3 separate regions of the Homo sapiens genome follow, and regions 2 and 3 are each linked to region 1. Evidence: promoter capture Hi-C in human tissues and cell types (Jung and others, 2019). All regions are on one chromosome and are shown on one strand. The core of a region is centred on a gene start or on the middle of the fragment in contact, and the rest is flanking DNA. Distances in the headings are between cores, read along the strand shown. Region 1 holds the start of SNRPE (small nuclear ribonucleoprotein polypeptide E). Region 2 overlaps PLEKHA6 (pleckstrin homology domain containing A6). Region 3 overlaps PLEKHA6 (pleckstrin homology domain containing A6).

Region 1 (3,949 bases), core at 739-3,238:
CAGGCTGGAGTGCAGTGGCGCGATCTCGGCTCACTGCAACCTCTGCCTCCCAGATTCAAGCAATTCTCCTGCCTCAGCCTCCTGAGTAGATGGGACTACAGGCGCCTACCACTACGCCCAGCTAATTTTTGTATTTTTAATAGAGACGGGGTTTCACCATATTGGCCAGGCTGGTCTCAAACTCCTGACCTTGTGATCTGCCTGCCTCAGCCTCCCAAAGTGCTGGGATTTACAGGCATGAGCCACTGTGCCCAGCCCTGGCTGAAATTTTTTAAAGGAAATAGTTATCCCATGCATTTGCCAGCTTTGTGTAGTTTATTTATTTATTTATTCTTATTTATTTTTTTGAGACGGAGTCTCGCTCCGTCACCAAGGCTGGAGTGCAGTGGCATGATCTCGGCTCACTGCAACCTCTGCCTCCTGGGTTCAAGTGATTCTCCTGTCTCAGTCTCCCAAGTAGCTGGGATTACAGGCATGTGCTACCATGCATGGCTAATTTTTGTATTTTTAGTAGAGACAAGGTTTCACCATGTTGCCCAGGCTGGTCTCGAACTCCTGACCTCAGTTGATCCACCTGCCTCGGCCTCCCAAAATGCTGGGATTACAGGCGTGAGCCTGGCCGCTTTGTGTAGTTTAAAAATCACTTTCAACTCAACCCCTTTCTGAAGTCGTTATTACTATTATCCCCATTAAACAGAAGCCCTCAGAAAAGCTAATTTTGATTCTGCCATTTGCCCTAATCCGTGTTCCCTTAGGCAAGTCCTTTCAAAAGTCTAAACTTCAGTTTCCTCCTCTATAACATGTGTATGCCAATTAAGTGAAATCTCTGCCAGGCCACAAGCCATGACACAATGGAAAGGTAGGTGGACTTTGGGGTCAGGCACACCTACAAATTCCAGCTGCTCCACTTAGTAGCTGTGTTATCCAGGGAAGGACATGTTCTGACACTGGCTGACGCCTAACTGTGTGCACACATAGACAATTATTTCATTGAATCTTTAAGCCCCTGAGTAAAGTTAATCTTTACTATAATCTCCGTTTTGGAAACTAAGCCAAGACATGGCGAGGCTGAGTAATTTATCCTTGGTCACCAACTCTAAAAGAGCTGGATTTGCGCCCAGCATGTGGATTTCAGCGTCTTCCTGGTAAATCGCCACCCTCAGTTGCCACCTGAACAGTAACTCTCCACGAAATGGATGAGAATTGAATCCGTAACTGGAGGGAACCAGGCGTCTGGCTTTGGAATGCAGACCGCCTCTGGCCGACTGCCAGAGGTGGGAGGCCTGAAGTTTGGGCTCCTTGCCGCCCTACCCTTTCCACCACAACGCTGCTATCAAGCCTAAACTCCAGCAAAATAGGCTTTAGGAAAGGCACGAAATTAACTCATTTTACACATAGAGATACACACTGGGACGATTTTGGCTTTTCAAGCTAACTCAGAAAATGGAGATACAGGCCGGGCGCGGTGGCTTACGCCTGTAATCCCAGCACTTTGGGAGGCCGAGGCGGGCGGATCATGAGGTCAGGAGATCGAGACCATCCTGGCCAACATGGTGAAACCCCGTCTCTACTAAAAACACAAAAAATTAGTCGGACGTGGTGGCAGGCGCCTGTAGTCCCAGCTACTCGGGAGGCTGAGGCAGGAGAATCGCTTGAACCCTGGAGGCTGAGGTTGCAGTGAGCTGAAATCGCGCCACTGCACTCCAGCCTGGGCGACAGAGCGAGACTTCGCCTCAAAAAAAAAAAAAGAAAAGAAATTGGAGACAGGACGGCACTCCTCCTACCACGGCCACTATACAACCGAAGGCACCTCCTCCCGCCTCCCTCCAGGTGGCGCTGTAGGACCGGCCCACCTTCCACAGCGCAGACGCCTCAGTTTGGCCTCCCTCGGAGGCCATGCAGCGAAGAAACGTGACTTCATGGCTAGAGGGGCATTTCCCAGGAGCCGCCCATGCCGCCGCGTGACCTTCACACTTCCGCTTCCGGTTCTTTATTCCGGAAGTTGCTCTCAGAGGCAGCGTGCGGGTGTGCTCTTTGTGAAATTCCACCATGGCGTACCGTGGCCAGGGTCAGAAAGTGCAGAAGGTTATGGTGCAGCCCATCGTATCCTACGCAGGATGTCAGGACTAGGAGGTTCGGGTCAGAATACGGGGTGCGAAGGCGCAGGCTGAGGGCAGGCCTGGGATAGTGGAGTACGGATCCACATCCCATGAGCCCCCGGGGCTACCAAGACTGGAAGAAAGCGCGGGTAGTTGAACCGTGATGGTGGGGAGGTGGTCTTGGGGGGACCCCTGCCGTGGGGAATGCAGGAATGGACGCGGCAAAAGGAGGGAAGAGAACTTCAGGTGCGGAGTGAAAACGGGAGTTAACGGTTTTGGGAAACTCCAGGGGGATGAAAGTGGAATGGATGTTCTTTAGTCTTTAGAAGACCCGTAACGAATGCCCAGCTGGGCACTTGTTGTTTGCGTAAGCACCAGACCTCGCGTTTAGTAAACAAAGGTGAGACGGGAATAGCGTCGTCCGGTTGTTTCAGGAAGCAGAGTCTATGCTGCTTTTGTATTTTTTCCTTAGCCACTGTGGTGCAGAACCTCATCTTCAGATACTTACAAAATGTACGTAAGTTGCTTGTTTCGTAACTACTTTTTAAATAAGAGGTGAACTGATTTAGTTTTTTGTGTTAACCTGAGCGATCGCTGTGTTCTAGAATTTAAAAATAGATGTAACTGGAGATTGGAGGGTAATTGAGGGGAAGGAGTACTTAGAAAGCACTAATGTGATGAAGTGGTGTGTATCCATGCCACTTCCCAACATGCAAAGAATTGTATCCATTACTTTGCAAGATCAAAAATACTTTTTAATTCCAAAAAGTATTATTAGCAGACTTGACCATGGTATTTGGGCATCAGTAGTTTTGTTAGTAGTGATTATGGCTAGAACATTGGAACCTCTCCCCTTTAGGATGAAACATTGGAAGAAAAACCCAGCCAACTTAAACCATGTCAAGAGGTGGTGTGTTTAATACCTGTGGGAAAACTTAAAGACGAAAAAAGGAAGAGAGAAGGGGTAGCTTCAGAGGAGTTTAGTGGCAGCTGCTTTCCTTTGAGGGAAATTTTAGCAACTTAAATTTTATAGTGTGATAACACAACTGAAAAACATTAATTTCAGGTGATAATAATTCTTAACCACCTGAATTGAGGGCTCCTGTCCTAGTTGTTAGGTGTGTGACATGAGAAGGCTTTGTTTTGGAACTGGATTTTGCTGCAGGAGATAAGCCCTTGGTCATTAGAAATTACTGCTTTGTGCTATGCTGTCAAAAACTTTCACTCTTAATAGATTGAGACCAGAAGCAGTAAGAAATATTGAGTCCCAAAATCACAGGAAAATTATTAGCTTATACAGTTCCAATATAGAACTTATTAAATGAAAATTCTTTTTGAGGTTATTATTATTGGTGAATAATTCTTAGATATGGGCTAATTAGTTAAAACTTTTGACTTACATTCATTACAATTTTTTTAGGAGCCATATTTCTCTTGTCGTTTGACCAAAATGGTTAGGTTTTGTATACTTCAATTTTTTGGGGGGCGGGGGGCGGGGAGATCTTGCTTAATGTTGCGCAGGCTTATATTGAACACCTGGCCACAAAGCGAATTATTCCGCTTTGGCATCCCAAAGTATGGGAACGGTGTGAATCGAGGCACCTGGCCTGTTTTTCTTTTCTTTTTTTTGAGACGGAGTCTCACTGTGCCCAGGCTGGAGTGCAGTGGCGCGATCTCAGCTCACTGCAACCTCTGCCTCCCGGGTTCAAGCGATTCTCCTGCTTCAGCGTCCCGAGTAGCTGGGACTACAGGCGTGCGCCACCACGCCCAGCTAATTTTTTTTGTATTTTTAGTAGAGATGGGGTTTCACCATGTTAACGAGGATGGTCTCTATCTCTTGACCTTGTGAT
Region 2 (3,949 bases), core at 458-2,957, 460 kb after region 1:
GACCTGGGCAGACTGACTCCAGAGCTGTGCTCTTCAAGTTAGCCCAGTACAGTTCATCCATGAGATCACTCAATTCTAATTACAAGCATACTGAGTGAGTGTTCTGATGAGTGCTGAGTGAGACCTGAAGTCACACTTCTGCCCTGGGCCCCAAGGTTCTGCTTGAGTCTGCATGAGTCACTCCTAGCTATGATGAAGTGCAGTAAAAGTCCAGCCAGTAGGGATGTGTTTCAGCTGCACGAGGACTTCAGGAGCCCTCTTTGGGGTCCACATCCCAGAATCTGACTTTGATTGCTCTGACTTTGATTGCCAGGCATCCCTGGTAAGAGTCAGGGCTATGGATCGTGAAGGGATTTTGAAGATGGAAGGAAATTTTTAGTATCTCAAAGGCTGAAGTAGAGGATAGAATAGGGTTTGTCACTGGGCACAAAGACATGCTGAAAAGATTTATAAATAGGATAAAGAAAGGGGCCTCAATGAATAAGCCCTTTATGGGATAGGATACGAAGGGCAGGGCTGGGCAATAGGAAACTCCAGCTCTGGCTACTTTGCAGCCCCCATTAGAGAGGCAGCTCGTGATGAGACAGAAATGTCTCACCATCAATAAGACAAGGAAAGGAACCAAATGAAGAGAACTTAGAAACAGTTTTCTCTGAGGTTGAGTTTCTCTGACAAAGTCTTATCTGAGAGGGATACAATTCAGAAGAAATGAGTGAAAGTGGAGAGACTATTCCAGAAGTCACAAAAGCTGAAGGCTTTATGTCTAAAGGTGCTGAATTGGAAGTCGATTAGGATCCTGGTGTTTTTATCTGACCTGAGGCCAATAGCTTACTAAACCTTCCATAGATATCAGTTTCTCCATTCATTAAAAGGGTATTGGGTCACCTGTTTGTGTCTTTGTCCTTTGGCTTAGGGACTGTGTTGGATAAAGGAGACTGGAGATCACATGATGCCTGAGTTACTTAGAAGAGAGGAGATGCAGGAATACAGAATTTTATTTATTTATTTATTTATTTTTGAGATGGGGTCTCACTTTGTTGCCCAGGCTGGAGTGCAGTGGCGTGATCTCAGCTCACTGCAAGCTCCACCTCCCAGGTTCACGCCATTCTCCTGCCTCAGCCTCCCAGGAATACAGAATTTGATCAGAGCTTTCAGCAAGGGAGAGGCAGGAGCCACCTCCACACTGTACTTCAGTTACCCCAATTGCATTTAGAGAGATGCAACTATTTTGATTGTCTTAGAGCTCCTGAGAGATAGGAAAGTCTAGTGTCAGGCACCTTGGGTAGGCAACGTTACTTCCCAGTTATCTACAAGTTCAGCTCTCTGGGGTCAGCCCATAGAAAACGAATGCCAGGAAGAAATGTTTCCTGCAATTAAAGCAATAAAGAGAAATGCAAACTGGGTTTAGAGGGCTGCCAGGGGGAGAATCCTTAGGGACATGGTGGTCAACTGTCCCAGTTTGCCCAGGACTTTCAGTGCTCAAACCGGGACAGTCTCAGGCACACTGAGAAAAATTGGTTGTCCTACCAAAGAACTCACGTAAATAAATATCTGGTTTGACAAAGAACCAATGGGCACCACATGAGATCTTCATGCTCAGAAATATTGAGAGCTCAGGTCCCAGGACTAGGAGCCCGAATGCCCAGCTGCCTGCTTGGTGAGCCCTCAGCACACACGTTACTGTGGGCAAGTACCTGCCTCGCTGGGCTTTGGTTCCTCTATAAGATCTGGATGGGTTTTCCTTCCTATCTGGAAGACAAAATCCTATTAGAAACTTCTAAAGGTGCTCAGGACCCTGAGCCCTGAGAAAGTTCCTTATTGGTGGCTTCTTAGAGTAGCCTGTGAACAAACCCAGGAGGCCTTGGCGCAAGACTCTACTCTGCCTGTCCCTAAGGTCACTTAGTCCTGCAGAGATCTCAGGGCCCAGGCGAACAAGGGGTGGAAGGGCAGCATGGGGAGAAGTAGTAGCTGCCATTTCCAGGCTGCCAAAGCCAAGCACCGCTGGGCTGCCATTAACATATAGACTGGGCTGAACACAAAAGGGGCAGAGTCCCTCTGCCCACAGCAAGCCCCATTCCTCACCCTGCCCAGCCGTCTCCCTAATGCATCCAGCACAGGGAGCCATGCTTCCCCTGGCTTGAGACCACTTAATTTTCTCCTAAGCTGCTTTGTGAGGCAGGCTCTGAGCACTCCACGTGTCCAGTCCTGCTGTGGCCAACTTTCTCCATGGCTGAGGGCAGCTCCAGTTCCATGCCCCCTTCTGCCAGCTGAAACAGAGCCCGGCTCCAACAGTGCCCTTCAGTTTGTGAAGACCAGAGGGCACAAGTAGACACTCAGCTCCTCTCTCCCTTAGACCCAACCAGCCAGGAGAGTGAAGCTTCTCCCTCCTGCCTGTGCCAACACACGGTCACGTCTTAGCTCATCAAATGTTCTATCAGTGCCCACTATGTGCAAAGCACTGGCAAAGAAACAGAGACAATCGAGACCCATATTCAGAACCCAAAAAGGGCCATGAGAGCACAGATAGACAGAGGCTTCCCAGCTCTCATTCTAACAAGACTTTGCATGGCTGCCCCAGTCCATGCCACCTCCCAAACCCAAGTGAGCACCACAGAGGCATGGAGACAAAAGAGAAAGAAGAGAACCAAAAGCCTGGTTAATTAATTCACAAAGCAGTGCTCCAGGTGATAGATCATTGAGCCTTACACCCTCTCACAACACATTTCTAGCAAATAATTTTTGCTGTCCAAGCCCTAAATCTGACTGCTAGGGATTAAGCTAGAGAATTAAGAGTCGGAGGATAAATGTAATCAAACCCCTTTCCTTCTCCTTGGTTGGTTGGTTCATTCATTCATTCCATATATATTTTATGAGTGCCTTCTGTGTGCCAGTATGGAGCTCAGCACTAGGACTTGACCTCACTCAGCATTCACTGCCTTTCATCATCCTTAGACTAGCTCCCTCCTTCCTATATGATCCAAATAGGGTGAGGAACTGCTCACTGCCCAAACCCTGGGGCCTCCGCACTTAGGCAGGGAGTGGTCCAGGCAGAAGCGCGCTGGGTACGGCAGCCTCTGTAGTAGGGATTTGTGGACAAAGCAGCTACTTGGGTTTCAGCCTCTCCCCAGTCTCTCTCCATCCCCTCCTCCTCCTCCTGGGATAGAAACCCTGCCACTCTCTGCTCACATGCTTGAGTCACAAGGCTGAACTCCCAGCAAAAGAAGTAGCTCAAGGATGTAACAGGCGCGAGCCCAGTGAAACAGAAATACAGTATTTCATTTTGTTCACTTTGCACCATTCTTCCTCGTTTAATGCCCAAGAAAGCAGTACCAGGGCTTCCTGCTTGTTTGTCCTTCCTACCTCTCCCACCCACCTGGCGCTGAGGCCTCACTCCTGATTTATCCCCAGCTCCATTCCTTTCTGTCTCCCTCTCAAGGCCCACAGAGGGTGTCTTGTGTCTCTAGTGCCCCACATGTGGAGAGGTACAGGAAGTAGACAGCGATAAGGAACTAGCACAGGGCAAGTGAGCCTTGATGCCGACGGGCCCCTTCTGGGAGCCCCTTCTTGGCCTGCAGTCTCTGGCCCGCTGAGGCCCAGGAGAGCGCTGAGAGCCCCGTCGTTGATTGGCACCTTGCAAGCAGACTTCCTCATCTGTCCATGCACGTTGTGGTGTCCAATGGTCTAACTGCAGATTTCCATCTCTGATCTGCATGGGCAGATGGGCGAGCGCTGTGCCAGGCCCCAGGGGACCACAAGCTCCTGGGGAGGAGGCACAGCCACCTGGCTCTCTAGACCAAGGACTCAGGGGGCCTGTCTCAAGGGCAAGAGACAGCCCAGGCCTCCAAAAGGGAAAAATACAAGAGCAAGTATAAGCCAAACCCCAATCCTCTCTCCTTTCTTCTCACTTGCTCCCATTCCTAAGGAAAGGACAGGGCAGGTATCAGAGAGC
Region 3 (3,949 bases), core at 782-3,281, 380 kb after region 1:
CAAGCTCCGCCTCATGGGTTCACGCCATTCTCCTGGCTCAGCCTCCGGAGTAGCTGGGACTACAGGCACCAGCCACCACGCCCGGCTAATTTTTTGTATTTTTTAGTAGAGACAGGGTTTCACTGTGTTAGCCAGGATGGTCTTGATCTCCTGACCTCGTGATCCACCCACCTCAGCCACCCAAAGTTCTGGGATTACAGGCGTGAGCCACCACGCCCAGCCTCTTTCTTTTATTTTTTATTATTATTTTTTGAGATGGAGTCTCCCTCTGTCACCAGGCTGAAGTACAGTGGTGCGATCTTGGTTCACTGAAACCTCCACCTCCTGGGTTCAAGCAATTCTCCTGCCTCAGCCTCCTGAGTAGCTGGGACTACAGGCGCGCGCCACCACGCTCAGCTAATTTTTGTATTTTTTTTTTTTTTTTAGTAAAGATGGGGTTTCACCATGTTGGCCGGGACAGTCTCTATATCCTGACCTAGCGATCCACCCGCCTTGGCCTCCCAAAATGCTGGGATTACACGATTACGCACCCTGCCACGTGTGTATCTTTCTAAGAGGGCCTCATGGTACCCCATGCCCACAGTCGAGCCCCAGAAAACACTTGCTGATTGACTGACTAGGAAACTGCTCCCCACACTGACCCTTAACCCTGTTGCTATCCTGGTATCATCCTAGATTTAAATTCTTGTGAAATGCATGCTGTCTGCTATCCATCCTGGTGCCCAGGAACAGGCTTCACTGCAAGGGAGCTAAAGATGACAGATGGAGATGAGAACAGGTAAAGGGGAAACCTGGAGAGAAGTTCACAAAATGGGGTGTGAGAATGACCTCCTTAAACAAAGAGCTCCAGCACTAGGGCTGGAGGCCTGTGGGGAAGAGATGGGCACAGAAGTTGTATAGTTTCAGACAAACGAGGATCTGGTCCTCCCTCCCCCACCTACCTTCTACTCCATTTCTCAACTTACCTCGTTGGAGCCAGGCTTGGTGGGGGACCCCTGAGAGCCCGACACCAGTGAAAAGGGGCTCAGGGGGCTGGTGAGGCTGGCAGAGCTGAGGGGGCTGGCCGGGCTGTTGGAGCTGTAGGTGGCTGAGGGGCCAAGTCCTCCTTGGGGGAAACAAGGGGATGGGTGAGCAATGGAGGAGGGGTGCGGCCTGGTGGGTAGATGGGCACTGTGAGTGGAGGTGGCAGGGAGAAGCCAGATCCAGGGATGTGGAAGGGCAGATTTAGTGTCTCAGGGCTACCTGGGCCTGCCAAAGGGGCTCATTACAGGTTCTGGGGCCACAGGCTGGCTGTTGAGAGGTGTGCTGGGTGGGGAAGACGGTAGATGGAACTGATACTGTTGTCCCTGAGGTGTCAAGGAAAGCCAGTCTGAGGTCCCAGGGCTCAAGGAAAACTCTAAGGTAGGGGTCACATGTCACAAGTGGGCCCATGTGCTTGGGGGCTGGGGAGGCTTAGGTGCTTTTGACCTTTTCTGGGGAGGACTTTAGAGTGTCAGGGTCAACAGTGTCTCTGAGTTGTTTATTTGGTCTATTCTGTGGGGGGTAAGGGACCCCTACCTACCACCCTAGAACCCAGGGGAAGATTCTGGTGTCCCAAGAAGGCCCTGCCTGGCTCTGAACACAGTGTGAGCTGGCAGGAGTGGGATGGAGGTCAGAAATACTGGAGCACTCCTGGTGAGGCAGGCAGCCTAGGAGGCTGGCACAGGAGGCACCCACCTCTGTGCTTGGCGGTGTCCGTGCCCCGGGAGGGGTTGTTCTTCCTCAGCCCCTCCATCACGTCCTGGATCCTCCAGATCTCCTTTTGGATTTGCCGGTTCAGCACCTCATTCTGAAGCAGCCACACAGTGAGTCAAAGGAAATGGCCATGAGGAGTGTCCAGCCCTTTCTCTCAGCCCAGACCCCTTGGAACCCACATCCCTTTGGGCCAGCAGGAGGCAGGCACCCTGTGTACACACACACACACACACACACACACACACATGCCCCTCCAGCAGTCATCTTTCCCATGGGCTGCCTCTGCTCTTCAGCCTCTAGGAGATGGCACCCCAGAATTGCCCGAGTTTCTGAACCAAGACTGAGGACGCACCCTTCCGAGCTCCCTCAGGGGAAAGATGGGTGGTTTTCGAGTGAATGCCCATCTAAGTGAACACTTTATGGTATCCTGTTTTTCGTGGGGCAAGAGCTTCCATTTTACTGCTTTTCTTCACATCCAAACAGCCCTTTTCTAATACCCACTCCCAGCGTACGCCTGAAGAGTCATGAATTCAATTACAGTTGACAGTCTAAAAGGTAAGACCTCCCATTTATTTAGCATCCCTCAGCACCAGGCACTATGCTAAGCAATTTGCATATACAGTGCTAACTCATTTCGGCTGCATGACTCTAGGAGATAAGGGCAGCAGCTATCCCCTCTTCAGAGATGAAGAGACTTACACCCAAGGCCATCTATTTAGTAAGCAGCATGACCATCATCTCAATATGGGTCTATTTGGACCCGAAGTTAGCGCCCTTGACCACAACCCTATCCCCCCTACTAAAATGTCTGTGTTTCAAGTGAGGCTTGGCCACGGGACATGGTGGTATTTGGGTCTTCTGGACCAGGTGGGTCTTCACCCTACCTAACCAGCTGCAAGGTAGGGGTGGTGAGTAGCATTACCAGGAGGGAAACAGAAGAAAATGGGGGAAACCAGGGTGTTAACTGCATCAGAGAGACAGGGCTTGCAAACTAGCTAGAGAAGAGGCAGGGCCTGGGTGAAGAAAAGGCAGAGGGAAGAAAAGAACAAGAACTCCCCAAGATCATCATGTCAATCCTCCTGCCTCCAGGCAGACTGTTTCTAACCCACCCCAGGAAGAAAAGCCTCTCTCCTATCTAAAAATTCCTGAGCAGATTGCTCCCGCAGCGCCTACTCTTCTAATGCCTGAGTTATTTATATTTACACGTCTGTTTTTAAATCCTGCTGGGCACAGTGGCTCATGCCTGTAATCCCAGCAGTTTGGGAGTCTGAGGCAGGAGGATCACTTGAGCTCAGGAGTTAGAGACCAGCCCGGCCAACACAGGGAGACCCTGACTCTACAAAAAATACAAAAACTAGCCAAGCATGGTGGTTCATGACTGTGGTCCCAGCTACTCAGGAGGCTGAGGTGGGAGGATTGCTTGAGCCCGGGGCAGTCAAGGCTGCAGTGAGCTGTGACTGCGCCACTGCACTCCAACCTGGGCAACAGAGCAAGACCCCATCCCAAGAGGAAAAAAAATCCTTTCAGTCATAAAACACCTGTGTCTAACTGAAGTCTCCCAAGCTTCAGCTTTAACTCCTTCCCCTGTGAGATGAACCTAAAGCGTCCCATTATCTTCATCCTGAAACTTAGAGTCTGTTATCAATGGCCGGAACCTTTGCTTTTGTCTCGAGGCCAACTCCTCATCTTTAGTCACATCCCAATCCCCGCCAGCTCAGGGGCCCTTCTTCACCTGGGTGTCCAAATTGAGCTGCTCCCAGAGGTCATCGTGCAGGGCAGAGACCTCAGACTCGAGGTGCTCATACTCTATGGTGCTGTTTGTCAGGGCCTACGGGGGAAAGAGGCGTTCACTGAGAAAGCCGCCATCACCAAGGCATTCCTCCTTATCCTGCAATGGACCCTGGGGCCAGGGTACCAGAGGCACAAAGATCTGGGGAAGAGGGCATGGAGGGACCGAAGGAGAGGGGCACCAGGCTGAGACATTCTGGTGACAGCCAAACACTAGCCTTACAAGAGATGTAACAGCCCATCCCACCACCAACTGAAATAAAGAGAAAATGGAGAGGGATGATATCACTTCCATACCCTCCTATTCTCCCCAGATCAGCGGATAAAAAGTAGAGGGCATAGCCTGGGGAAAATGACAAGACCCCATCTCTACAAATTACAAAAGTTAGCTGGGCATGGTGGCGCACCCCTGTAGTCCTGGCGACTT

What was found. Contacts are between HindIII fragments. The study calls those that stand out against the background at their distance.
Region 2: a contact is called between a fragment that was not itself captured here and the fragment with the promoter of SNRPE in region 1, in 1 of the 25 tissues and cell types used here (IMR-90 fibroblasts).
Region 3: a contact is called between a fragment that was not itself captured here and the fragment with the promoter of SNRPE in region 1, in 1 of the 25 tissues and cell types used here (IMR-90 fibroblasts).

Annotation. Positions count from the first base shown.
Region 1 is chr1:203,859,611-203,863,559 of GRCh38, forward strand. SNRPE (small nuclear ribonucleoprotein polypeptide E) reads left to right here and starts at 1,989. Exons shown (of 5, transcript NM_003094.4): 1 at 1,989-2,103; 2 at 2,586-2,612. The coding sequence starts at 2,050. RefSeq lists enhancers at 1,771-2,065, 1,874-2,133, 2,519-3,094. The HindIII fragment of the contact is 11,861 bases long and covers 1-3,949 here.
Region 2 is chr1:204,323,918-204,327,866 of GRCh38, forward strand. The region is part of intron 1 of PLEKHA6 (pleckstrin homology domain containing A6); the gene reads right to left. Among named protein-coding and RNA genes, the nearest start is that of PLEKHA6, 34 kb to the right of the region's middle. The HindIII fragment of the contact is 5,474 bases long and covers 1-3,949 here.
Region 3 is chr1:204,243,899-204,247,847 of GRCh38, forward strand. It overlaps PLEKHA6 (pleckstrin homology domain containing A6), which reads right to left. Exons shown (of 23, transcript NM_014935.5): 13 at 3,467-3,562; 14 at 1,717-1,828; 15 at 966-1,105. Among named protein-coding and RNA genes, the nearest start is that of GOLT1A, 32 kb to the left of the region's middle. The HindIII fragment of the contact is 7,881 bases long and covers 1-3,949 here.